Regions from separate parts of the Homo sapiens genome. Here all the other regions are linked to region 1. Evidence: promoter capture Hi-C in 16 types of primary human blood cells and fetal thymus (Javierre and others, 2016). All regions are on one chromosome and are shown on one strand. Each heading gives the region's core, a stretch centred on a gene start or on the middle of the fragment in contact. The rest is flanking DNA. Distances are from core to core; before and after follow the strand shown. Region 1 holds the start of LINC03068 (long intergenic non-protein coding RNA 3068). Region 2 overlaps INPP5A (inositol polyphosphate-5-phosphatase A). Region 3 overlaps DPYSL4 (dihydropyrimidinase like 4). Region 4 overlaps INPP5A (inositol polyphosphate-5-phosphatase A).

Region 1 (7,254 bases), core at 247-2,746:
CAGGTCAAGGGTACCCAGGGCCCACCCTGAGGCCCCTATGCCCTCGCCCTGGCCCCACCACGGGGCTCCTCTGCCCAGACGTCCCAGGTCCAGAGTGGAGGCTCAGCCTTGGGCCTCAGTCCGCTCCCGGCCCGGATGTGAGGGTGGGTCGCAGCTGCACGGCCTCGCTGCCCACCAGGCCTGCGGAAGGGAGGACACGCCCTCCCACAGACCCTGTGATGGCGGCTGCCATGGAAGGTGTCTAGGCCCTTTTGGGCATCCCCTGCCCCCGTCTAGGTCCCCAGGTACTTGCAGAAAAGAAGGGGTGAGCACAGCCTTCTGTAAGGGGGCGCCCGAGTCCTGGCCAAGGTGGCCGCCCACCCTGGGGCTCCACAGTCCAGGCAGCCACCTCTTCAGTCTCTCCCCTTAATGTGGGGCAGAGTGGATAGAGGGACTCCCTCCTCTGACCAGCCAGGCAGGCAGGGAAACCCGGGCACGGGAGCCCAGGGCTGGTGGCCATGCCCTGAGGGAACTGGCTGCACTTGCAGCCCAGGCCACAGGCCCCAGGACACCCCAGACCTCTTGGCAGGACCCCAGGGTTAAAAGGCAGTTTGTGGCGCCACTTCTCCCCTGATGATGGACACCTTGAAGGGGCTCTGGGCACCAGCGGAACAAACGTCATAGGGAAACTCAGCAGCTGACCTACCACCAGGACCCACCTGTCCTCTGCCCTCCCAGAATCCTGGTCATGCGTCCAGCAAGCTCCCAGGGAGGACACGCCAGGCACTGGGCCCATGGACACGCTGTAGAGAAACGCCGCAATCGTTAGGGGCATGTGACTAAGACGCCTCCTTCCCATAGGCACCCACGGGGTGCGGCTCTTTCCAAAACGCCACATTAAAACAGCTGCAGGAGGACCGAAGGGGCCTCGTGCCCATCCCCTGCTGCTACTCCCCAGCCCGCCCTCAGCCTCCTGCCGCTGGAGCTCTGCCCACCTGCACACCCCACTCTTCTTCATCCCCAGCCCCATAAGCGAGACTACCTTGAGGCCAGTAGGTGCTTCCTGAGAGTTTAGGAATAACAGGGGAACTACAGCAAATAGCAACAATTTTAAAAGCAAACAAGGCATCAGCCCTTGCCATCCTCAAGCCGTGACCACCCCTGCCCAGGACGGAGCTCCAGCGGCTGCACACTTCCCCCAGGGCTCGCCCTGCAGCTACCTCTCAGCTCCTGGGAGGAAACTCCACATTTCAGCTGCTTTATACCCAGAGAAGCCTCCTGCCTCCCTTCCCAGTCCTGGCAGATCCTGGGCCTCTCCTGCCTGCCTGGCCTCTTGGAAATAACTGGCTGAGCCTCTCTGTGTGTCTGGCACAGCATGGGGCCCAGAGGCCAGAGCCACCGGAGGTACCCTGCAGAGAGGGTAGGGTTGCAAAATCCTCCCCCCCACCCCCACAACTGCAGAACACACCCTGGGCCCAGCTGGGCTCTAGAGGTGCCCAGGAGAGGGAACTGAATTATTTCAGGAATTGGAGATGCCCCTGTGGCTGAGGAGGAGCTGGGGCTGGGGCCGGGGCCAGGGCCGGGGCTCTGACCTGCCACTCTGCCCCACATTAAGGGCAGAGACCGAAGAGGTGGCTGCCTGGACCTTGGAGCCCCAGGGTGGGCGGCCACCTTGGCCAGGACTCGGGCGCCCCCTTACAGAAGGCTGTGCTCACCCCTTCTTTTCTGCAAGTACCTGGGGACCTAGACGGGGGCAGGGGGCCTGGGGGTCTGGGCCTGGGGGCCAGACCCTCCATCATTTCCTAGGCTGGTGCTCAGAAATGGAGGAATCTCAGGACAGGTCCCTGTGGTCTACGGGGTGGCAGGCCTGAGGCTGGCCCTCTCTGCAGAGGACACCTTGGGGGCTGCTGATCAGCCTTGAGGCCAGAGATGGCTCTCACCTGCTTCCCCGTCACAGGACCAGCACTGTCAGCCTCACCTGGAGGCTTTCTGCAGGGCTGGTTCTCTTGTCCCATCAGTGTCTGTGTGGGGTCACCCTGTTCCCCTAGGAGGGTGGGTCTGCAGGGGGGAAGCCAGAGTGGCCCTTGGAGACCTCAGGACCCCAGAGGGAATGAGCAGGGAGCCTTGAGGGTCTGGAGGAGGAATTCAGAGAGGCAGGAAGCCGGGGAGCCCTGAGGAGAGGCGAGAGGGAGTGAGCGAGCGGGGGAGGGAGTGAGGGGGGAGGGAGCCCTGAGGAAGGGGAGGGGAGTGAGCGGGGAGGGAGTGAGGAGGGAGGGAGCCCTGAGGAGAGGGGAGGAGAGTGAGTGGGAGTGAGGGGGGGAGCCCTGAGGAGAGGGGAGGAGGAGTGGGGGGGTGGGGAGCCCTGAGGAAGGGGAGGGGAGTGAGCAGGGAGGGAGTGAGGCGGGGAGCCCTGAGGAAGGGGAGAGGGAGTGAGTGGGGAGGGAGTGAGGGGAGGGAGCCCTGAGGAAGGGGAGTGGGGGGAGGGGAAGGGTGAGGCAGGAAGCCAGGGAGCCCTGAGGAGAGGGGAGAGGAGTGAGGGGGAGGGGAAGGTGTGAGGGGAGTGGGGGTTGAGAGGAGAGGGAAGGAAGGGAAGGGGGAGGGGAGGGCGATGGGGGAGCCCCCACAGACACCCCAGCTGCTGGCTGGGCGCTGGGCACCCCCCAACCGTTGGGCCTTGCTCCCACTAGGGGCAGTCGTGTCCCAGCCCCACAGTCAGGTCTGAGTCAGGGACCCGTGGCGCCCGCCCTCCCTCAGCTGAGCTCACCAACAGCTGAGAAATATTCATTTAAAAAAGCCCCCATTAAAGAGCTAACTCATTGCTGACACTGCAACTTTTTATTTTATTTTATTTTATTTATTTATTTATTTTGGAGACGGAGTCTCGCTCTGTCGCCCAGGCTGGAGTGCAGTGGCGTGATCTCGGCTCACTGCAAGCTCCGCCTCCCGGGTTCACGCCATTCTCCTGCCTCAGCCTCCCGAGTAGCTGGGACTACAGGCGCCCGCCACCACGCCTGGCTAATTTTTTGTATTTTTAGTAGAGATGGGGTTTCACCGTGTTAGCCAGGATGGTCTCAGTCTCTTGACCTCGTGATCCACCTGCCTTGGCCTCCCAAGGTGCTGGGATTACAGGCGTGAGCCACCGCACCTGGCCTTATTTTATTTTATTTGAGACAGAGTCTCACTCTGTTGCCCAGGCTGGAGTGCAGTGGCACGATCTCAGCTCACTGCAACCTCCGTCTCCTGGGCTCAAGGAATTCTCCTACCTCAGCCTCCCAAGTAGCTGGGACTAAAGGCGTCCCCCACCATGTCCAGCTAATTTTTGTGTTTTTAGTAGAGATAGGGTTTCACCATATTGGCCAGTCTGGTCTTGAACTCCTGACCTCAGGTAATCTGCCCACCTCGGCCTCCCAAAGTGCTGGGATTACAGGTGTGAGCCACCACACCCGGCCTGCAACTTATTTTTATATTAAAAAATTTGAGTCCTTAGAGGACGGAGGCCTACAGAGCCATGGGCCAGGCAGAGCAGAGGCAAGAAGGCAGAGGTGAGGGTGGCACCGTCCCCTGCCGGGGCCTGCAGTGTCATCTGGGGCTGGATCTCCAGGCCCCGTCCTCCTGCGACCACCTCGCTGCCCATGTGAACCTGTGGTCAGCCCCGGGGACCTCGGGGAGGCAGGAGGAAGTGTGCACCCTGCCCTGCCTGCTGGCTGGGAGCCCACGGGGTGGGCAAGGGGTGGGCAATGCCTTGTGACGTCTCCCATGTGGCTTCCTTCATTTTTTCTGAAGTGCCCTGGTCCTTTTCCTTCTTTTTAAACATTTTATTGTGGATGTGTCCCACCCCACTTAAGGAAGAGTCTAGTACCTCATGCCGGCCGCCCCGTCCTGGCCCCCCGCCCATTCCGGCCCCCCCATTCCGGCACCCCATTCCAGCCCCCCCATTCCGGTCCCCCCATTCCGGCCCCCGCATTCCAGGCCCCCCATTCTGGCCCCTCCATTCTGGCCCCCCCATTCCAATCCCCCATCTGCCCCCCCCATTCCGGCCCCCCCATTTCAGCCCCTCCATTCTGCTGCTGTCCCTTGGTGTGTGAATGTTTCCGTTTGTCTCTACAAGATCACGAGTTCCCTGCGCTGAGCTCTTTTTCCTTTCCCCTTCCCCAGCGCCCCTGCTCTGTGCTGCATTTGGAAAGAACCTAAATGTCCTCCCTCTGAAGACTGGTTAAACATCTGGTTATGATCCAGTGGTAAGCAGTGCCTCCCTTGGGTTAAGAATACACACGCACACATGCATACACATGCGTAAACACACACATGTACACACATGCACACTCATACACTCACATGCCCACTTATACACATACATGCACACATGCACTCCTAAACTCACATGCATGCGCACACACGCACATGCACACACACGTGCACACACACACTCATACACATATACGTACACACATGCACACACACGTGCACACATGCAATGCACTCATACATACATGCACACATGCGCTCCTACATTCACACACACATGCGTGCACACACGCACACGCACATGCACACTCACGCAAGTCACACGTGCACATACGCACATGCACACTCATATGCACACACGCACACCCACACTCACATGCATACGCACCTGCTAACAGCCCTGAGGAGGGAACCCCGGGTTAACAGGAGCTGCCCCTGAATGTGTGAGGGATGGGCTGGTTTAGGATACCATGCTTGGCTGTCAATATTTTGTAATTGTTCTGTAAAAAGAGTGGATTCATTTTGTAATAAGCAAATAAGCTTAAAAAAGAAAAAGAAATCTGGGATCAGGAGAATTCGGGGTTTTACCCACCTTCGCTTTAAATTCCATTTCTGCTCTCAATGTTTGGTAATGGTTTCACGGCCTTTTCAATTGCTCACGTGAGTGTTTTCAACCACCAGCTCACGTTTCTGGAATCCGTTCCTTTGGCTGTGCCACTTGTGATCCCTTCTGCTCCAACGTTTGCCTGGGGAGCTCATTAGGTAGCCAGGACCCTGGGCCACTGCACCCCACCAGGACGGCAGGACTGAAAAGGCCACTGACGTGAGTGCGGGGAGGTCGGGTGGAGATGAGCTCAGCCCGGCTTAAAGTGGGGCATCCCGACACCCCCAAAGGCATGGGGCAGGAGCGGCGGGGCGAGTGTCTTGCCAGGCTTAAGGCTCTAGGACCAGAAACCGGGCTCAGGGAGAGGCTCCTGGGTTGAAGAGTGGCCGTGGGGGCTCAGGAAGTCCTGCCCCAGCCTTTCCTGTGCTGCTTGAGTTCTCACTCTATGAGTATATTCTGACGAAAATGAAAATTAGAACATGAAACCTCCCTTTCTCTTCTGCTGGCCTCGAGGGTACACATGCTGTCGGCTGGCGGAGTAGGCCCTGTCCCACCGCAGGCAGCATTCTGCAGGCCAATTTGAGAGGCCTAGTGCCTGCCACGCAACCACCCTCGGCCCTGAGCCGTCTTCGAGGAATGGGGTCCCGGGCCCTGCAAGAGATGCCTGGTGCTGGGCATCACTCAGCCTAGTGTGAGGGAACCCATGGAGTGGAGATGGCAGGGCGTGGGGGGGTCCTGAGAGCCAGAGTCTGCACCACAGTGGTGGCTGGGGCCATGGACAGTGGGGCTCAGGGACGCTGCTGAGGAGACAGTGGGCCCAGATCCTGTGTGCTGGGGAGAGAGTGGGCCCAGATCCTGTGTGCTGGGGAGACAGTGGGCCCAGATCCTGTGTGCTGGGGGGGTAGACAGTGGGCCCAGATCCCGTGTGCTGGGCAGGGGAGACAGTGGGTCCAGATCCCGTGTGCTGGGGGGAGACAGTGGGCCCAGATCCCGTGTGCTGGGAAGACAGTGGGTCCAGATCCCATGTGCTGGGGGGAGACAGTGGGCCCAGATCCCGTGTGCTGGGGGGGAGACAGTGGGCCCAGATCCCGTGTGCTGGGGGGGAGACAGTGGGCCCAGATCCTGTGTGCTGGGGGGGAGACAGTGGGCCCAGATCCCGTGTGCTGGGAAGACAGTGGGTCCAGATCCCATGTGCTGGGCAGGGGAGACAGTGGGCCCAGATCCCGTGTGCTGGGAAGACAGTGGGTCCAGATCCCATGTGCTGGGCAGGGGAGACAGTGGGCCCAGATCCCGTGTGCTGGGAAGACAGTGGGTCCAGATCCCGTGTGCTGGGGGGAGACAGTGGGCCCAGATCCCGTGTGCTGGGCAGGGGAGACAGTGGGTCCAGATCCCGTGTGCTGGGGGGGAGACAGTGGGCCCAGATCCTGTGTGCTGGGGGTGAGGGTAGTGGGAGATGAGGGCAGCACTCCAGCTGTTTTGGGAGTGCCAGCCTGTGGTGGGGTGGGGGAAAGGCCCCCTCATGCAGGCACACATGCACACACACACGAGTCCACACACAGATGCACACAAATCCACAGACAGACATCCGCACATGCACACATGCATCCACACACAGGCGCACACACGCACACATGCGTCCACACGCAGGCACACACGCACACATGAACACACACATCCACATGCAGGCACACACATGCACACACACATCCACCCACAGGCACACAGGAACATGCACATCTACACACATCCACAGACACACACACATGCAGGCATACACTCACATGGGCATACACACCCACACAAGTATCCACATGCAGGCACACACACATCTACATGCATCCACACAGGCATACACATGCATCCACATGCATGCACACAGGCACACATGCATCCACACGCAGGCACACACAGACATGCATCCACACACAGGCAGACAGGCACACACGTATCCACATGCAGGCACACACACCCCCACACCCCACATGCAGGCACACAGGCACACACACATCCTCACACAGGCACACACATGCACGCACGCAGGCACACATGCACGTCGCATGTGCTCTGGGTGGATTTTGGTCACTTTGAGCACGGCGTCACGGCTCATTCTGGGGTCTGTCTCTGCAACTTCAAGGATAGCTGTGGGCACCTGGGGGAGGTCTTCTGGGCATGCCTTGGAGCTCAGATTGGCCAAGGCCCATGCTGTTGACGCAGGAGCCCACCACGTTCACGTTCACCAAAGCCATCCCGGGGATGTAGGTGGCATCTTTTCTGGAAGATTCCATGACTTTCTGGAACCCACTCTCAGCTGAACACAGGGCCTTCGAGAGGCTTCTGCTCCAGGGAAGGTCCCTCCCCCACGTCCAGCTGATCACGTGCTGCTTTCAGTCCAGGGCTTCTGAGGCAGGAAGAGGCCACCGGGACAG
Region 2 (6,498 bases), core at 1,097-3,596, 220 kb before region 1:
AGAAGGTTGTGTCCTTCCAAAGCAAGGAGGTAGATACCGAAGCAGAAAGGGTGGAGTCAGAAGCAGGGAGGGCGGAGTCCAGAGCAGGGAGGGCCGAGTCCGAAGCAGGGAGGGCGGAGTCCGAAGCAGGGAGGGCGGAGTCCAGAGCAGGGAGGGCGGAGTCCGAAGCAGGGAGGGCGGAGTCCGAAGCAGGGAGGGCGGAGTCCGAAGCAGGGAGGGCACAAGCCTCGCCGCAGCCCACGTTTGAACTCTCCACTCCTAAGTCATCTGTGCCTCCCTTGGGCCCAGGGGAGGCCACGGCTCCAGGGGCCCCAGTTGCCCACTGGCCACCAGTGTGACCCACTGTCCCAATCAGAAGGGAGAGACAGGGACACTCCTGACAGATGGAGGCGTGCCCACATGCCCATGCCTCACTCCAGAAGGAGTGGGCCACCTGCTGCTTCCAACAATATGAAAGAGAGACCTTCTCTTTTCTTTACTGAGGCCAAACCATGAGCAACCCTTACGGGAAAAGACATCCAAAGAAAGCTATCTCCCACTAATGGCCCTGTTATAAATTAGACCTGACTGACAAAGACCAAGGAAAAGTGACGCCCGTCAAGCCGTCACCGCCGTTTGCAGTTTCTCCACTTTGGCACCGCTGTCCTGACCACATGAATATCCATCATTTTCCTTAAAAAAAAAAAAAAAAAAAAAAGAAAGAAAGACACTGCCAAGAAATCAGTTTCTATAGGACAAGGAGCTGGGGAGATACGGGGTCAAGGGAGGCTTCTTCCCTAAGAGGGAAATGCCTGCCTGTTTGCTCACAGGGGTGACCCGGCACAAAGGGAGACTGGGTGTTCTGGGGAGAAGACAGGCTCCCCACTGGGACCTCCCAGAAGGCCACAGGGATGCGCGCAGGCAGGGTGAAGACTTAGCTGTGCTGTGGGCAGCAGAGGGGCAGGGGACAGGTGTGCCCCAACCACTCTCCCCCCAGCAAGGAGGGGCTGACAGTGTCCTCCTGCTTCTGGGCCAGGGCTGTGCTGAGAAGCAAGCCAGCCAGGGGCTGGGGACTACAGCAGAGGAGAGGCTGAAGATGGGGGCTGTGGGGTGGTGTCAGGGGGTGTGGGGGTCAGGTGCGGGTTCTGGGAGTGCGCACTCAGAGGATGTAGGGTCAGGGGGTGTGAGGTCGGGGGGGTGGGGTCAGGTGCAGGTTCTGGGAGTGCACAGAGGATGTAGGGTCTGGGGTGTGGGGTCAGGTGTGGGTTCTGGGAGTATGCAGAGGATGTGGGGTCAGGGGTGTGGGGTCAGGGGGTGTGGGGTCAGGGGGTGTAGGGTCAGGGGGTGTGGGGTCGGGGGGGTGGGGTCAGGGGGTGTGGGGTCAGGTGCAGGTTCTGGGAGTGCGCAGTCAGAGGGTGTAGGGTCTTGGGGGTGGAGGCTGAGGGTGTGGGTTTCAGGACGTGGGGTTTAGGGATTGGAAGCTGAGGACATGGGGGCTGAGAACGTGTGCAGTGAGGGCATGGGGGCTGGGGGTGTGGGGTCAGTGGCTGCAGAGGGATTTTCTGCAAAGAGGTTGGTGACCCTGGGGACCCAAGAGAAGATAAGAGTTTGGACAAAAGAAAGACCTGAGAGGGCTAGAAGGGCTGTGCAGGGCTGCACCCTGAGGACAGAGAGGGAGCAGTCACCAGCGGGTCCTGGCTCCCTGGGGGCTCAGCAAGGCCACAGTGGGGACAGGGACACGGGAACAATGCCCTTCCAGAAACCCAGGTCCACGCTCACGCCAAAATCCCAATGGCATCTACCCACATCTCACTTGGAGCTGCACATCTAGAGTCCAGCACGAACCGCGCCCGCCCTCTCTGCCCATGGGGCACGCACAGGCAGGCCCCACATCCTCCAAGCTTGACCAAGTCACTGTCAGACTAAGGACACATGAATGGTGTCTGCAAGCACGTAAGAGAAGCAGAACCACTTTCAAGGACGCAGCTAAGCCAGGCTGAAATGTCACCGACGGTCCCCCAGGAGAACACGGGGCCTCCTCGAGCAGCTGTTTCTGCCCTGTCACTTGCCACTCCTCCACCACACCCCCAGCTCCCTCTCGTTCTGTGGTCCCGTGAGGACGTGCTACATAGAAAGCCTTGAGGTTAAGAATAGGAGCCTGCATTGTGCCCCTCAGAGTAGGCCACAGTGGGCACCAGGGAACCCGCCTCACAGGGAAGGCCTGGCCCGGCAACACCTGGCGCTCACGGGGCTACTTCCCAGCTTCACACAAGCTGGTGCTACTCACCGGCTGTTTGTTTGTTTATTTTGAGATGGAGTCTCACTCTGTCTCCAAGGCTGGAGTGCGGTGGCACGATGTCTGCTCACTGCAAGCTCCGCCTCCTGGGTTCACGCCATTCTCCTGCCTCAGCCTCCCGAGTAGCTGGGACTACAGGCGCCCACCACCACGCCTGGCTAATTTTTTGTATTTTTAGTAGAGACGGGGTTTCACCATGTTGGCAGAATGGTCTCTATCTCCTGACCTCGTGACCCACCCACCTCGGCCTCCCAAAATGCTGGGATTACAGGAGTGAGCCACCATGCCCGGCCTCACCGGCTGTTTCTTAACCTTCCTGTGTCTCCGGCACCCCAAAGATAAAGTGGGGAAATGATCCCCCAGAACAAAGCCTCACAAGCAGTACACGCTCAATAAACGCCAGCAGTGGTGGTCGTGCGATGGAGCTCGGCAGTTTTTAAAGAAAGCCACAGAAATGGACCAAACCCAGAGCACGGTCAACAGGGGCTGAAGCCCCCTGAGCTATTCAGAGAGGGGTGAAGTGGGCCGCAAGCTTTTAAATCCTACGGAAGAGAATAAAAACATCAGGAGGAATGATAAGCCCTTCTAATGCTCCCTGTGCAAATTCATGTTTAATTTGAGGAGAAATATCAACATTTTTTCATTTCCCTGATCATGCTTTAATTAAATCTCTAGCCCACTGTTTAAAATAAAGCCATTATGGATAGTGATCAAGAATTTCATCACTCCCTACTGAACTATAAAATCAATCACTTAACTTTTTATTATATAACCTCTGAAAAGTGAAACAGTTTGAGGTTACAGGATTTGAAGTGCTCTGATTTTCGCCAAAAGAAGTCCGTCAAATGTGCTTCTGAGAAACTCATGTTCTGCTTCATTTCCATATTTTTTCCATGGCAGCATCAATAAGTTACAGGGCGTCACTTTGCCCCCTAACCACCAACAGAAAGCCTCAACTGAAAGGAGGCCGAGGCCATCAGCCCATGGCAGGAACGTGAGGCTCTCGTGTCATTTCACCTAAGAAAGGATCAGTGACACCTGAGCCTGGGATCTGCCACTGGAATTTTCAAAAGTCAAGTGTGGGGCTGGGCTGCAGGAGCCCATTAGTCCCTCACCACCACACCAACCCTGCAAGGCCGGCAGACTCCAGTACACTCAAAAAACTGAATAACTTTGTTTAATGTTGCCTAGAAATAAGGAAAAATAACAAATACTTGTAAAAGTTACACTTGAAAGATCTCCACTCCAACTTATGTTCAATGTACTTAGCAAAAAGGTCAAAGCTCCGGAATTTGCTGGATAAATAAATGTTGGTGAGGCGGATGAATCACTGGAGAATTGGTGCATGGCGGCGAATGAATAACCTGCAAATGCCTCCCAAACCCCATTATTTCCCCTTTTCCAAGAGCCCAAGATTCATGTCCCCGCATGCCGCCAGTTCATTACCGAGAAATATCATCCCTCTTCCGGCTCGCGCCGGGCAGCGCACACGGCCCCCTGAGGACCCTTTAATGTTTAATTCCCCATCATCTGCTCCACTGAACAGCTTAATCTCTGCTTGTATGATCAATACTATATCAGTGTAAATTAAAATGACAATTTTAAAGTAATTAAGCCTGTTAATGCTCGATTCAAATGTCATTATTTGCACAAGGGATTGAGGAGAAATTACATCGTGTCCGGGGTGACAGGAAGCTGTCTGGGCCTCTTCAGCCCCGCTGTGCAGGGCCACTGGAGGCTTCAGCAAAGCAGATTAACTTCTGCCTCGCCCTGCCAGCATGCCTATCCAATTTCTAAAGAGGATAACGCAATTTGATAAATTTAATTCCAGCTACAAACTCAATTATTGTGATAATAGATGAAAACTGGGAGGAGCCTCTGCACAAGGCCCACAGTTTTAAAAACACACTTAACTCCAGAACGAGCTTCAACAGTAATGGCTTGATTTGATTTGTTCTCTCTCTTTTGAAGCCCCTTTAAATAATTATGATGGTTGGAAGAACAGCCGACATTTATTAAACAGCCGAGCTCCAACCAAAAGGGGCTGCGGCTTAGACAATCCAGGTCATACTGGAAACGTCTGCTGTCCTGAGCTTGTACAGCAGCATTTATTAGACAAGCACATCATTACATTATTGGATCTCATAAATAGATATATAAAACTCAGCCAGCCTCAGATGAAACCTCCCTCTTGCTCAACACTGGCGGGTCTGCCCCAGCTTGGAAAGCGGCATCCAGCAGGACCCTGCCATTTTTTTGTCCCAGGTGGCAGAGGGGGTTGGGGGTGAGAGGAATTAATGAAAATAACTTTTTTAAAAACCACCTTTACCCTCCTATGATTCCCAGCACACTCAGTACACATTATGACTCAAGTTATCTCCAACGAGCTCTCAATGCACAGATATCTTTCTCTACCCGAGTCCACTTACGGATGAGGTGGGTGGGTAGCCTGCCGAGAAGGTCTGCACAGCACACGCTGGGGGCCGCTTTAAGGGGACAGCTGCAATTGCTGGACTTCATCCATTAGGTCAGCAATAAAAATTGACAACCAAACATTAATTTCAAGATGAAGAGCACAGTGTAACAATTTCCGTTTGAAAGATGTTTCGGCTCGGTGTGGGCCATCCTTCAGGGTTTTCCCAGACAATTCCAGATGCTGCTGCACTCCAGAAGGAAAGAGAGCCCCACTGCAAAGTCGGCAGCCTCGGGATGGTGCGCCACGGGGCCAGCGGTTTTGGGTGATCCGACAGGGGTTTTTTTGTGGCTGTTTTCAAACCCAGTGATGTATACTTTAATACTTTAACTGTCTAAATTCCACCTTTTCCATACAGGAGGGAGCTGTACAGCTGGTGTCTCTTCACTGCATGCTTGAAAGGCCCTTATCCGTTACCTCCCTACTGCCTACGATGACTTCACAGTTCCTCAAGTTTCCCCCAGCCAGCAGAAATCAGATTTAAAACCAGTGAAAACATGGAATAATGTGTTCAAATGGCTCTCCCTTTCTGTCGGTTTAAACATAAATATCCCTGACTATGAATTACTCCCCCAAGTTCCTAGATGAATCATAGTGAGGAAGTAATGATGCATTATAACAGTCACGACATGGGAGGAAGCGCTGAGTAAAGGCCAGGCACACAGTGACTCAGTTTTAAGGCAAACCTGGTAAAGGACTAATGTGGTTATATCATTCTTCTCTTTTTTTTTTTTTTTTGAGACAGGATCTTGCTCTGTTGCCCAGGCTGCAGTGCAGTGGTGTGATCTTGGCTCACTGCTACCTCCACCTCCCAGGCTCACACGATCCTCCAGCCTCAGCCTCCCAAGTAGCTGCGACTACAGGTGCACGCCATTGCAGCTGGCTAATTTTTGTATTTTCAGTAGAGATGGGGTTTCCCCATGTTGGCCAGGCTGGTCTTGAACTCCTAAGCTCAAGCAATTCACCTGCCTCAGCCTCCCAGAGTGCTGGGATTACTCCTAAGCTCAAGCAATTCACCTGCCTCAGCCTCCCAGAGTGCTGGGATTACTCCTAAGCTCAAGCAATTCATCTGCCTCAGCCTCCCAGAGTGCTGGGATTACTCCTAAACTCAAGCAATTCACCTGCCTCAGCCTCCCAGAGTGCTGGGATTACTCCTAAGCTCAAGCAATTCACCTGCCTCAGCCTCCCAGAGTGCTGGGATTACTCCTAAGCTCAAGCAATTCACCTGCCTCAGCCTCCCAGAGTGCTGGGATTACTCCTAAGCTCAAGCAATTCACCTGCCTCAGCCTCCCAGAGTGCTGGGATTACAGGTGTGAAGCACTACACCCAGCCCATTCTTCCCTTTTAACCAAGGAAGAAATTACACAATGAAACAAATACCCCGAATCTTAATATCACTTTTCCTTTGTCATAATTAACAATTAGCGACACAGAATCGAGGGGAAAAACACAGGATCCGTTTACTCCTAGGAAGGGCGTTTCTGTGAATCTAAGAGGGGGCTTTCCTGTGTTCTCAAGGCCACGGGTCAGCCAGTGGCCGCTGCGGGGTGCGCTGTCTGGGAGACACTCTCGGGATGGAAGTGAAGTGCTCCGTCTGTCCCCCTTCTTTGGAAACACAGGTGTGTCTGCAAAGGCGAGGGAAGGCCTCAGGTGGGCATGATCTCTGAAGCTCCAGCTTCGTTTCCTTCAGTCTGGGGGTGCCCTCATGCACAACAGGGCTTGGCCTTGAGGGACCTGCCCTGCACAGGCG
Region 3 (7,240 bases), core at 4,394-6,893, 240 kb after region 1:
GGGGACATGGGCGGAACCTGGACAGCGTCCCCCACGCTCACGTGTGCCTTTCCATCCACAGGAGAATGACTATCTTCAAGACTGCCTCGATGCCATCCAGCAAGACTTCGTGATTTTTAACAGAGAAAAGTGAGTGTGTTGGGGGTGGGTGGGCGTGGTGGCAGAGAGGAGGAAAATGGGGCTAAGGTTAAGGTTTTCTTGGCCACGTGAGCGGGCACCTGTGGGCCTGGGGTGCGTGGCCCTGCTCTCTTTGGGGACTCTGAGCAGCAGCTATGGAGGGGAGCGGCGGGAGGCCCCTGCCAGGCTCTGGCATGTTTGTGCTCCACGCGGGGCCCGTGGCTGGAATCTTCTGGGGAGAGACACATCATTTGCCCAGATGAGGGGTGGTGACTTCCTAGGAGGCCCCATCAGAGCCACGTCAACTCCCCCACCCAGGCACGCCCTCAGTCTCTCAGCAGACCTTTCCTGAATGTCAGGCCCCAGGGGACAGAAAGGGCACAGATGACTGGCAGCAGGCAAGGCAGGCCAGAAATAGCAGCAGCTGCCACGGTGGGGCCCAAGGGAGGATGGATGCTCCCTCTGCCCGCACGGGGCAAGGAGGGCCTCCTGGAGGAGGTGGGTCTGAGCTCTTATGGACAGGACGTGCAGGGCAGCACGTGCAGACGGCTGAGGGCACTGACTGGCACCCTGGGGATCAGATGACCGGGTGAAGAATGAGGCTTAGCCGAGCCTCATTCCCAAGTCACTGACCTATGGCACCTGCACAGTCAGGCCTTTCGGCTTCTGGCTGGAAACACGCCGAGCCTCGCCAGCATGCTCACGTGCCCCCACCCGTCCCCAGGCTCCCTGCCAGTGTATCGGGAGCATGGCCTCTCCAGCAGACACCGAGCCTGTGGCCCACGTTTGGGCATCCACGCCATGGCCTACCCCATGAGCCCGTGGGCAGGTCATGGGACCGTGAGGCCAGGGAGGTGGGGGCATAACGCCCTCCATGTGTTCCTGCCACCCCAGGCTGAAGAGGAGCCAGGACCTCCCGAGGGAGCCTCTCCCCGCCCCTGAGTCCAGGGATGCTGCGGAGCCTGTGGAGGACGAGGCGGAACGCTCCGCCCTGCCCATGTGCGGCCCCATTTGCCCCTCGGCCGGGAGCGGCTAGGCCGGGACGCCCGTGGTCCTCACCCCTTGAGCTGCTTTGGAGACTCGGCTGCCAGAGGGAGGGCCATGGGCCGAGGCCTGGCATTCACGTTCCCACCCAGCCTGGCTGGCGGTGCCCACAGTGCCCCGGACACATTTCACACCTCAGGCTCGTGGTGGTGCAGGGGACAAGAGGCTGTGGGTGCAGGGGACACCTGTGGAGGGCATTTCCCGTGGGCCCCCGAGACCCGCCTAGATGGAGGAAGCGCTGCTGGGCGCCCTCTTACCGCTCACGGGGAGCTGGGGCCATGGATGGGACAGGAGTCTTTGTCCCTGCTCAGCCCGGAGGCTGTGCACGGCCCTCGTCACAAGGTGACCCTTGCAGCACAGGCCGCGGGTGCCCCAGGCTCGGCTCAGGTCTTGGAGGTCAAGGGCATGGGTTGGGGTAGTGGGTGGGGAGGTGAATGTTTTCTAGAGATTCAAACTGCTCCAGCAATTTCTGTAGTTTTCACCTCTGAGAATTACAATGTGAGAACCGCTCGATGTTGCATGTTCTGCGTACGTCCTGTGTCTGCCTGGCCGTCAGGCCGGTGCCTGCCGTTTCTGGTTGGCCTGGACTTGGGGCAGCCAGTGGGGTGGGCAGCTCCTCAGGGCAGAGCTCCCGGACCATGGCTTTGGGGTGGGTGCCTGTCTCCGTGGCCCTGGAGCCGTAAGGCTGTGGAAGGCAGAGACGGTCCTGGAGGCAGAGGAGCCCAGGACAGCACCGTGCACCGTGGAGCCACCGCAGTGCCGGGCAGTGCTTGGCCCTCCATAAAGGGACGTATCCCTCTCACTGTGGCTGGGTGGTTCTGTGGTTGGAACTGTAACTAACTGGGTAAACGGCCTGTGTGCTTCTCTCTGGTCTCGCTGGAGGAGGACGGGCTCAGCCCATCAGCCCAGCGCTCCAGACAGGCCTGTGCTGGTTTCCTCTGAGGAAATGGGTGTGGCGGGTCTGTGCCCCTTCCCAGGACAGCGGCCATAGTGGACATGTGCCTAGACCTGTGTCCATGAGCCCCACTGCACCCCTGGCAAACAGGGCCCTCCCGTCCTTGGCTGGGCTGCGAGATGGAGATGACAACGGCCAAAGAACATTTGGGGAAGAACCGGCCATGCCACGAGCAGAGTCAGAAGTCCGAGGGGATAGAATGCAGCTTCCCGTCCCCCACCCACCCCTGTCCTCTGAATCATGGCAGAAACTAGCCTTCCAGCCCTCAGCAGCTCACATGGGGGACACGGCACCCAAATCACCACCAGGAAGGGTGGCCCGGTCTCTGCGAGGGCCCAGAGGCGCCGTGTACTCGGTGGAAGTCTGGCGATGTCAGAGACAGGCTCGGGGCAAGGACAGGTGTGGGGGTTTGAATAAGTGCATTTGGGGAACATGGCAGGGTGGTGCACCTTGTCCTCCTTCGAGACACTGGTGAGGTGTGGGTGCTGTCTGGTTCCCTTGATCGCCCCCCACACTGGGGCAGAGTGGGAGATGCTGGTGTGGGGGACATCAGCTCCCACATCTGGGCCAGAGGGAGCCCCGGGAAGGAAATGCTGAGGGCCCAGGGCCTTCGCCTGGGATCTGCACAGCTTTATAAGCAGCCCAGGGTGAGAGATGGGCCTGTCTGTGGTTCCCAGAGACCACGGCAGGAAATTCTCTGTCACCATCGGTGCATGGGCAGGGGCCAGAGAACCGGTGGCACAAGGTGTCCCTGGCTCTCTGCTCAACAAACAGCGAGTGCCCAGTGACTGCGACCAGGCCCCGCTCTTGGGATGAGGACAACCGTCTGGGAACGTCCACGCACCCTTTGAGACACAGCACGCGCCAGCACCGCAGTCACACACCGGGGGCTCGGGTCAGCCTCATAGCTGCCCGGCCTTGAGTGCTGGGCCTGCGTCTGTGAGCAGCGCCCACCTGGGTGGCGGTGGTGTGTGCTTCACTTCCACACACTCCCGTGCATGCTCCCCGGCCTTCTGGGGTGGCTCGGGCTGTCCGGTGAGAATGTAGGCGGGGGGGGGGGGGGGCCTCTGTCCCGCCCTGGATGTTGGCTGCCCTCTGCCCCGCCCTGGATGTTGGCTGCCCTGCCGGCCCTCTTCCCTGTGAGAGGGTGCGCTCCTCCCTGCCATTGAGGGGAGAAGAGCTGCGGCTGCAGGAGTCGTCGGACCAGCCCACAGCCAGCCAGGCCCCGCCTGTGCAGAGACGGCGTGGGGGAGAGGAGACGGGGCCTTCCTTCCATGCACAGGCGGCTTCAAACCCAGACGTCTTTAATGGGCCTGATTCACATCAGAGGCAGGATGACTGCCTGTCCAGGCGGTGGGTGGCATGCACAGGTTCCTGGCTACAGTGTCCTCAGTGTACAAAGCTGCTACTAAGAAGCCTACGGAAATACACAATCTGTAATAAGAGGACAGTGTCTTCCTAAAGGATCGCAAAACTTCCCTGGATGAGGGCTACATGGAAGCTTAGGTGTGGGCCTTGGGGTGCGTAAAAGGGACCCTCCACGGGCGGGGCTGTGCTGCACCAAGTTCTGATGGGTCCCTGAAGTCTCAGCAGCTGTGTGAGCAGGAGGGCTCTGCGCCCACTTTCCTCCCAGGCCTGCGATGGGCACAGGCCTCTGAGGAGCGGCTGCGGGAGTGTAGGGCTCTGCGAGGCAGTGACTGGTGGTGGGGAGGCGGCGGCAAATGCCCACCAGGCGGGACTCGGCCCCTCGCCGGTTCACCAAGAAGCCTGGTGTCCAGCTGCTCCCACACTGTGAGCCCGGCAGGTTCCCTGTCCCCAGGCTGGGCCCAGCGGGCACTGGGGTGCCTGGGCTCAGGCTGCCGGCATTGTCCCTGCCATGTGGCTCCACCTCACCCTGGCAGTGACATCTCCCCAGGTTCAGCCCTTCTCTTGAGGGGCTCTTGGCAGCAGGACCTGGGACCCCACAAGGAGAGCCTGTGGGGAGGGGGAAGGCAAGACCGCCAAGCACCTTCGAGAAACTTCTACAAAAGAAAATGCTAAGGAGGGGGGCGAGTGCCCTGGGGCCCCCGCGGCCTCGGGTGGGGCCAGCACGGCTCACAGGGCCGGTCCTGGGCGTCTAGGAGAGAGAGGTGATGTTGGAGCGGCCGCCAGGTGGTGCCATGATCTTCTGTGCTGTGCGTCGGGCGATGTGGTCATCAGCCTGAGACCCTGAAGAAAGGGCACAGATGGGCAGGGGAGAATGAGGCAGGGGCAGGGGCCCTTCTATTCAAGGCGTGAGGCAGAGTCAGTGGCTGCGTCAGTGGGGCCAGGACTGCAGAGCCCCCGCACACCTGCCACCACCAGAAGGCCAAGCAGACCAGGTGCCCGGCAGGACTCCCATCCCTGAGGCCCGGGGTGCAGGTGAGGCTGCCCAGGAGATCATGAAACCTGCGGGGACTGTGGGCTGCAGGAAGCCCTTCCTGTCCCGAGAGGAACCCGGGCCAGTCCTGCCTCGTCCCTGCTCTGGGTTCCGGGTGATGAAAGGCTGCCCCTGGCCTCCCAGACAGTGCCGGGTTCTCAGGGACCTGCCCCCAGGCCTGAGTCCCCAGGAGGTGAGCAGGGCTTTGCTATCACCTTCCTGGGTCCGGAGAATGCACCAGAAGCGACGCCAGAGGCCGGACCCTGGCAGCCTGAGCCCTCCCAGGCATTCTCGTGTATCCCTCCAGGCCCCGGGACACAGCTCAGACCCTCCCTTGTGCCTCACGCTTGGTTCTGGGGCCTGCTGGGTGGGGACCTGGATTCCACATGATCCTGAGATCCTCGTCAAGGCCTCCCACCTCCCCTGAGGCTGGATCCATGCTCACTCCTGGGTTCCATGTGACAGCCTCACCCCAGTGCCACTGTCTTGAAGGTGAGGGTTCATCACAGCTGCCCTGGGCAGACAGCGGGCAGGAGGGGCCTCCCTAACTGGGCTCAGCCCTTGGCCCCCACAACACCCCCAGCAGCATCTCCTGCCCCAGTCCCCAGCTGGGTGCCTTCCGTGTGCAGCCCCTCTGGGCACAGGCTGGGCCCTGGTACCTGAGGCCCTGGATGCTCCGGCAGAGCCCCTCACCCCCACTGGTGCCCCAGGCCCAACTCACCAGATAGGCTGAACCCCGACTGATGTAGGTTGCGCACAGGAGGGACGGAGATCTTGCCTGGGCAGGACGCGCGGGCCGGAGCGCCACTCCCTGGCTTGGCAGGCACCATCACCTCGTGGACGGGCCCGTCATACAGTCCACGGGGCACACCGTGGATCTCCGCCAGCTGCCGGGGGGGTGGGGGCAGAGACAGGGCATGAGGGGCTGAGCCTGGGCAGCTGTGGGGCCAGAGATGGGGCATGAGGGGCTGAGCATGGGCAGCTGGAGGGCTGGGCCTGCTCTGCGCCTCTCCAGTGCCAGCTTCAGGAATTTGGGGCTGCCCTGGGGGGGTGCTCAACCCAAGTTCACACACGCCTCCCTCCTTGCAGTCCTCCCCATACGTGTATAATGCCCGCCTGCGGTCCCATCTGCATGTGTGTGCAAACGTCCCTCCCCTCAGTCTTACCAACACAGGTGCACATGCTCAACCTCCCTCCGAGGCCCCACGTGCACTTGTGTGTGCACAGACGCCACTGCGAGTGCCCCTGTGCGTGTGTGAAGCACCTGGTGGTCTGGGGAGACCACACCTGCTGCACCGTCAGACACGGATGATGCCGGGCAAGCGTGGCGTCACCACAGTAAGAGACTGGAAGGCCATGGGGGGGGGGCTCCCGTGGCTGAGCTCCTGAGAGCCCATGTGGAGAGGAGCACACGCCCCAGTCCACAAATCAGCGTGCACGTCTGTCCATGGGGAATCCCAGAAGGACCCACACTGAGGTCCAACTGGGCAGCTCCCGTGGGGAGCTAGATTTCTGCTCACTTTATATCTGTATTTTCTCTAACAACCGTGGATGACTTGGGTGGGACCCAGCTGCCGTTCACAGGCACTTGCAGAGCTGATCCAGGGCCTGAAGGTCCCAGTGCCATGGGGGCCTCCCCTGCCATCTTCCGGGAGCAGGCTCTTCTCCACTTAGACCCACCAGGGCCCTGGGCAAGCAGCGGCCCCGCTCTGTCTTCCTGACCCCTCGGGAGGCCGGGCCAGGTTGACCAGGGGTGCGTTCTGGGCCTAGAACTCAGCGCCCACCTGCCTACCTGCACAACACCCTTGCGGGTGCCGCCCTACCCTGTTGCGAGCTTTGATCCTCTTGTAGACAAAGTCCGGGAATGTTTTCCGAGGGACGAAGCGGCCCGCCCCCGGGGTGACAAACATCTTCCCGTCCTCCAGCGCCACTCGGCCCTGACTTATGACCACGGCAGGCGCTCCCCGGCACTCCACTCCCTCGAAGATGTTGTACTCCACGTTCTGGGGAGAGAGGCCCGAGGGTCCAGTGCCTCCACGCTGGGGCCCAACAGTCCCATCCCCGTTGAGCCGCTGGAGCACTGTGGCCGCCCAGCGTGGAGCAGGCCCGGTGTGCCTACACTGAGCCCCTAGCAAGATGCTGGAACTGAGGGGTTGGAACTCGGGAGGAATGCCCCCCCTCGGCCTACGGACCTCGTTTCTGAGTCCCGTTTCTCTCGAGGACAAAGGGGACAGGCGTGGGCAGGCAGGGAGGGTCACTTCTCCCTTGGCTAGGCAGGTGCACACGGCACCGCTCTGCCCCAGCCTCCTCCATGGCACAAGGGGACCACAGATGCAGCGGCCACGCAGCGAGGTGACGTGGACAGGGCCCATTTCAGTGTCTGGCCTGGGACAGGCTGTGTGGACGGCCCTGGGATGGCTGAGGCCACTGCTGCTGCCACGTGGGCCTCTGTCCTGCGCCTCTCCTGGGAAGGCTGCCCTGGGGTCCCGGCCCCACAAAGGCCAACCCTGACTTACAGCCGCCTTCTCTTACCAGATTGTGGGTCTTGGCAGAGATGATCTTGGTGGCCTTGGGGTTCCATATGACCAGGTCAGCGTCAGAGCCCACAGCCACTCGCCCCTTCCTTGGGTAAAAATTGAAGATTTTGGCAGCATTTGTACTGGTCACCGCGACGAACTCATTCTCGTCCATCTTCCCAGAGGCCTGGGGAACAAGAAGGCTGAGCT
Region 4 (6,255 bases), core at 2,003-4,502, 180 kb before region 1:
CCCATGCCAAGATAAGGCGCGCAGAGGGACACGGGAATTTCTTGATAGAAAAAGGCCACAGTTACTTGCCAACGACGCCTGGAAAACACCCTGTTTAAAATCCCCGCTGCCCACCCTTGCCCTGGGTGGGGGCTCTCCTCTCCAGGTCCCTTCGGGGCTGGGCTGGGCTGCAACGGGTGCTGGGACCCCAGAAAGAGGCCTGTTTGTGACCAACCAGACCCAGGTTCCCACAGGCCCCTGGTCAGACAGCCTCCTCAAGGCGCAGCCGATGGGACCGGCCAGGGCACACGGAGCAGCTGTGTGGGCAGGGGCCTGTTCTTCTCTCCGCCCTGCACACAGGACACCATGAGTTTCCATGACCTCACCGCAGGCAGCCTGGCCAGCCTGTGTGATCTGGAGCTGCCTTTCCTTGGCCCTGCGTGGGGCTGGGCCACCATGGGGAGGGGTGTGGGACCCAGCAGGCCCCACCCAAGCACAGCCTAGAGGTTTTTTGGGGAGACTGTGGGTTCTACCACACTGACCACATGCAGCAGCCTTCCCCCCAGAGATAGGGCAAGTGACTTAAGCAAATCTGCAGATGGAGCCAGAAGCTGCTGCCGGAGACGCCACGGGCAGAGGTGGAAACGCAGGGCTCTAACCCGAACAAAGTCCGGGCTTGGGCCATCGAAGCTCCCACAAATCAGCTCTAGTTTAAGAAGCACGTCCCCCGCCGCCCCCGCCGCCTCCCGGCCCCCACCACCGCACAGGGCAGGGCAAGGTTAAGTCCAGGGTCATGGCAGGTGCGACCGAGGCCCCACCCGCCCCCCACCCTCATGGACACTTTCACTTCACTGATGCCTTCCCCTCATGGATGTCTTCCCCTCATGGATGTCTTCCCCTCATGGATGTCTTCCCCTCATGGATGTCTTCCCCTCATGGACGTCTTCCCCTCATGGACGTCTTCCTCTCATGGATGTCTTCCCCTCATGGACATCTTTCCCTCATGAAAGCCTTTCCCTCATGGATGCCTTTTCCTCAAGGATGGCCTCTCTTCATGTATGCCTTTCCCTAGAGCTTGCCTTCCCCTCAAGGACACCCTCCCCTCATGGGCACCTTTCCCTTATGGACACCATCTCCTCATAGACATCTTTTCCTCAAGGACACCTCCCCTCAAGGACGTCTTTCCCTCATGGAGGCCTTTCCCTAGAGGACACCCTCCCCTCACAGACACATATCCCTGGAGGATGCCTTCCCCTCAAGGATGCCTTCCCCTCATGGACGCCTTCCCCTCATGGACGTCTTCCCCTCATGGACAGCTTTCCCTCATGGACGCCTTCCCCTCATGGACACCTTACCCTCATGGACGCCTTTTCTTCATGGATGGCTTTCCCTCATAGACGCCTTTTCCTGGAGGACATCATCCCCTCATAGATGCCTTTCTGAAGGATGTCTTTCCCTAGAGGGTACCCTATCCTCGAGGACGCCCTCCTCCATGAACACCTTTCCCTCATGGATGCCACCTTCCCCTGGAGGATGCTTTTCCCTCGAGGATGACGTTCCCTCAAGAACGCTTTGCCCTCAAGAACACTCTCCCCTCAAGGACGCCCACCCTTCTTGGATGCCTTCCCCTTATGGACACTTTCCCCTTATGATTGTCTTTCCCTGGAGGGCAGCTTCCCCTGGAGGACACCCTGCCCTTGTGGACACCCCTCCCTCATGGATACCCTCCACTCATGGACCCTCCCTCATGGATGCCTTCCCTGGAGGACAGCTTCCCCGGAGGCCACCTGGCCATCGTGGATGCCATTCCCTTGTGGATACCCACCCCTCATGGATGCTCACGTGTGGAATGCATGTGGAGAACTGCCGCAGCACAGGGCTGTCCGCACAATGCAGAGGGAAGGGCCAAACCACGCAGCAGCAAGTGAACACTCATTCCACAGCCACTAGCACCAACCCTGGAGCCACACTGGAGACTTCCAGAAAAAGAGGGGACACAGAAGAACCTTCTGTTCAGGTCTCCCGTCGCCCCACAGCCAATCTTCCGCTATGCATGCAAATGTAACACAACTCCCTTCAAAGATGTACGATGAGATTTTTATCTTCAGCCACTTTCCTGAGTCACTGAAAGTTCATGAAGACACTGAACAGCTGCAGGGCCCTGGCTCGAGAGGATGGGGCCATTCGTCACCTGAAGTTGAGCAGGCGGGCAGCGCACTGCCCTACAACAGAGCTGGGGTTCCCTCACGTGGAGTCTGTGTTTCTGGAGCTCTTAGGAGGGGAGGGCTGGGGTCAGAGGGCAAGAGCAAGTTTGAGGCCACTGCTGTATAACACCAGGTAGCTTAAAGAGGAACCACCCATCTGCAGTGCTGGGGACACACGTCAGGCAGCCAAATGGACCCACCCTCGGCACCCAGAGGCCAAGAATGGGAATGCCAGGTGCTGCTTCAGCTGTAAGCAAGGAAGGGGCACTACCTGGCAGCCACCTCCCCTCGCTCCTGCCATCTGTGCGGCCACGGCTCAGGGTCAAACACACCCGGTTCTGAAGGCCACACAAAAACAGATAACATGTCTCATTAATAACTGTATACTGATTATATGTTGAAATGATAACATTCTAGATACACTGGGTGAAATAAAATATATTATTAAAATAATTTCACCTATTTCTTTTTGCTTTTTAAAATGTGACTCTTCAAACTTTGAAATGACATATGCACTTTACACACCATTTCTATTGGATGGGGCTGGGCTAGATTCTAAGAGAAGCTTTTGACCATCTTTCTATTGGAATTTTACATGTTCTCTTTCATTTATAAGAGTTCTTTATAAAAATTGTTAAACCAGCCTATTGTTGTTTTTAAAAATATATTCCCAGTCTGCCTTTTAATCACATTTAAACTCTAAGAGCCTAAGAAAAGTCCTGCCAGTTTTATTTACTCGAATCCATCAGTCTTTGCCTCTACAAATTCCTTCAACTATGTGGAGTTTAGAAAAGCCTTCCCCATCCGGAAAGGAAATAAACAGCCATGTTTCCTTCTACGTGTCCCCCACGCCACGCCCCCCCCCCCCCCCGCCACCAGAGCACATCTGGAGGGAGAGGGGGCGGCCACCATAGGGCACAGGGCTCCAGGCCCTCACAGCAGTTAGTGCTTCCTGAATGGTGCTGCCGGCCCGGTGGAATTCACTCTGTCACTCCTCACAGTCATTGCCAGCCATGGGTGCATGCTCACGAGGAAGCGGGGCACGGTGAGGTTACACAGCCCAGAAAGGGGAGCCTCCCATCAGTCTCCTCCCAGGGTCCACGATGGGCTCTCAGCCATGCCGGCCCTTACTGAGCTGGTAGGAATGGGCCTGAGCTGCGTCAGGCAGACAAGGATCACACTGTCTTCCAAAGGAGACCAGACCACTGGCAGGAGGTCTGCTTTTAGAATCTGGTTTGCGGTTAATTTCCACACTTGAGCCTAATCTAATGGTTGCTCTTCACCAAGAGTAGATCCGCAGCTGCTGATCAGAGCGCTGTGCTGTAAACACCCTCCTGGGCAATGGCAACCAGTGAAGACATCAACATCAACAACAAAGTCACCGAGTCAGATTCGCGTCCCTTATCTCCAGTTTCTCTCCACACCCGACGCCGCCACTCCAGCCTGGGCACCTCCCCCACACGGCTCTCTCCACGGCCTCACCCCTCCCGGTTTCCAATACTCCAACCAAAGGTCCTCACAAATCTGTCCGTGGCTGCCGTTACCCTGAGGATGAAGAAAGTCTGAAGCTTTTCACGGGGAAGAGGAGGCCCTGTGGCATCTACCCGTCTGCATCCCCTGTCTCGCCTCTCACTATAATCCCAGCCATCTCACACCCCCAGCCCCGGACCACACTGTGCTCGCTGCTTTCACCACGATTCCTGGAAGGTGTCTTTTTCGGCTCTCACTCCCTCGTTCATTTCACTTGTCATCCGCTGCACGTTGCTGGCAGCTGGGGACACAGAGGGAGTCGGGACAGACCAGGCACTGGCCCTCAAAGCACCCACTTCTGGCAGGGACGCTGCTGGACGAGGCAGCCACCGCGGACAGCTGCACGCATCTTGGGAGCCGCGCCCAGCACCGCCAGCCCCACCGCCCTCCAGACCCACCTGCTCAGCGGCCAGGACAGACCCTCTCAGGACAGGTGTGGAGCCAGCAGCAGCTCCCGGCCCCGGTCTCCCCGTGAAGCCTCCTGGGAGCACCCAAGGTGAGGTATTCCCAGCCTGTCCACCCTCAGCCCCTCCCTCGGTCGGCAGAGGCTCCATCACAAAATGCCACAGACCAGAGAGCCTAAACGAGACACGTATTTCTCCCAGTTCTGGAGCTGTCAGTCTGAGGCCAAGAAGCCGGCCGGTTTGGTTCCTGGTGAGGGTCCTTCCTGGCTCACAGAGCTGCCTCTGCGCCCTGTGGAGAGAGCCTGATCCCGTGTCCCTTCTTGTAAGGGCACCCATCCCATCCGGGGGGCCCACCGCATAACCTCATCTCACCCCATCACCTCCCAAAGGGCCCACCCCCCTCAATACCATTACACTGGGGTCAGAGCACAACCTATGAACTTGGGGGGACACAATTTGGTCTATGACACCCACCCCGCCCCAGTGCCAAGCACAGGACCAAACTACAGCCAAACAGACTCTAGCAGAACACACGACCCTTCGAGGGCAGTGGGGCATGAGCTGGGAGGGCCTCACACGGAGCCAACAAGGGGCCTCCCACAGTCGCCACAGGAACCCCTGCACTGCTGTGAGCTCGGGCTGTCCACAGGGCACAGCAGACTGCTAACGTGTGCATTCCACAGCAAGCCTTGACAATCTGTCTGTAAAGAATCTAAGTGCTGGCTAAAACGAACACCAGAATCCACCTTGTGGATACTGACAGAGGGCTCTTGTGCACACCCACAAAATCTCACTTCAGAACAGAGAGAAAGAATTGCACAGTCTGCGATCTTGAACACGCCAGCTCCCACAACTGTATATTGCTACGAGGCACTTAGCGGTGTCAGGGAGCCGAAAGGCAAAGGACAGCACCAACTGTGAGAGACACATGGAGTGACCAGGACTCCCACCTACTGGCTGCAGGCGTGACCAGGCACCTCACCTGGGCAGCTCCTTGAAGCCTTCAACACACACCCACCCTACAGCCAACAGTCTCCCTGAGGAATGGACCCAGGCAGAATGAAGGCGTGTGTCCCGGGAAGCCTGCGTGTCCACATGCACGGCAGCTTTGTTTAACCAGGCGAACCTGGATATAGCCCAGGTGTCACCAAGGGGAGAGTGGGGAGCGCAGAGTGGGCCCCACACAGCAGGATCCAGGACCAGTGCTCGTGATGACAGCACTGAGCCACAGTGTGTGACAACACGGAACTGGCTCAACACACTAGCACAGGGAAAGCAGGCGGGTGCCGCCACGTTCCCTGGGTCTCAGCGTGTGACGTTCTGGAATGGGAAAAACGGATCTGTGGTACCCGAGGGGCGGGGCAGCAGGGAAGAGGAAGATGGAAATTCCCCATTATGTTGGGGCGGGCACTATACAGGTGTGCGCATTTGTCAAAATCGAAGAAACATGCACCAAAGATCAATATATTTTACTGTGTATAAACTACCTCAAGTTTACAAACACTGTACACACACACACACAAACACACACACACACACACACACACACACACACACACAGAAGTCCTGCCAGCCCTTGCAGAGAAGCAGCCTCAGGTGAGTGGGAAGTTGGGCCAGGCAGGATGGCACCTCCCCCTCCAGAACCCCCTGCTCCGTGCAATGCCCAGGGCCAAGGCACGCCCCTGACCTCAGCCAAAGAAAGGAACTGAGAGTCACAGGGCCCGACCTTGGTCAGGAAGCCTCAGGACTGGCCAGGGGTCACCCCTTGCCCCTGCAGCAGAGGCTCCCATGTCCCCGGGCCTGCCCTTCAGTGCCCCTCAGCCAGCTGCCGGCCAGTCTGAGACCCCTGTGCCTCAAGGGGCTCCCAAAGCCTCCCCTCCTAGTCTCATCTACCCACTCCCCAGCTGGTTTTTCCTGCACCTCCCAGCTCAACTGCTTTCACTGGAATCCTGCCTGGGGTGTGTTTTGGGAGACCTCAAACCAAGACATGAATATTTATTGACTGCCTCCCTCCCTAGCCCAGGCATTGACTCAGAAGCTGGGAAATCATACAGTAATTCAGAAAGACACAGGGCCACAGAAAAAGATCCTGCTGAGAAAGGGGTGTGGGGTGGGATGACAGGAGCGGAGTAGGGAAA

The links. Contacts are between HindIII fragments. The CHiCAGO score rates a contact against its expected background, and 5 or more counts as called.
Region 2: a contact is called between a fragment that was not itself captured here and the fragment with the promoter of LINC03068 in region 1, in 1 of 17 cell types (M0 macrophages). The highest score is 6.0, in M0 macrophages.
Region 3: a fragment that was not itself captured here is called in contact with the fragment with the promoter of LINC03068 in region 1 in 7 of 17 cell types (naive CD4 T cells, activated CD4 T cells, naive CD8 T cells and 4 more); the score reaches 8.8 in naive CD4 T cells.
Region 4: a contact is called between a fragment that was not itself captured here and the fragment with the promoter of LINC03068 in region 1, in 15 of 17 cell types (naive CD4 T cells, total B cells, M0 macrophages and 12 more). The highest score is 13.8, in naive CD4 T cells.

Annotation. Positions count from the first base shown.
Region 1 is chr10:132,439,224-132,446,477 of GRCh38, reverse strand. It overlaps LINC03068 (long intergenic non-protein coding RNA 3068), which reads left to right and starts at 1,496. Exons shown (of 3, transcript NR_184030.1): 1 at 1,496-1,706; 2 at 4,135-4,217. It overlaps LINC02870 (long intergenic non-protein coding RNA 2870), which reads right to left and starts at 1,289. Exons shown (of 3, transcript NR_149317.1): 1 at 1,200-1,289; 2 at 699-782. RefSeq lists silencers at 2,550-2,599, 2,700-2,749 and enhancers at 6,388-7,051, 7,052-7,254. The HindIII fragment of the contact is 13,459 bases long and covers 1-4,766 here.
Region 2 is chr10:132,665,043-132,671,540 of GRCh38, reverse strand. All of the region lies in intron 4 of INPP5A (inositol polyphosphate-5-phosphatase A), which reads right to left. Among named protein-coding and RNA genes, the nearest start is that of NKX6-2, 120 kb to the left of the region's middle. RefSeq lists an enhancer at 4,582-5,781. The HindIII fragment of the contact is 927 bases long and covers 1,883-2,809 here.
Region 3 is chr10:132,201,923-132,209,162 of GRCh38, reverse strand. It overlaps DPYSL4 (dihydropyrimidinase like 4), which reads right to left. Exons shown (of 14, transcript NM_006426.3): 11 at 7,047-7,217; 12 at 6,338-6,517; 13 at 5,236-5,401; 14 at 3,404-4,324. The coding sequence ends at 4,233. STK32C (serine/threonine kinase 32C) reads left to right here. Exons shown (of 12, transcript NM_173575.4): 11 at 62-129; 12 at 1,012-1,671. The coding sequence ends at 1,153. Among named protein-coding and RNA genes, the nearest start is that of DPYSL4, 19 kb to the right of the region's middle. The HindIII fragment of the contact is 4,048 bases long and covers 3,620-7,240 here.
Region 4 is chr10:132,625,263-132,631,517 of GRCh38, reverse strand. All of the region lies in intron 2 of INPP5A (inositol polyphosphate-5-phosphatase A), which reads right to left. Among named protein-coding and RNA genes, the nearest start is that of INPP5A, 91 kb to the right of the region's middle. RefSeq lists an enhancer at 1-2,993. The HindIII fragment of the contact is 1,003 bases long and covers 2,751-3,753 here.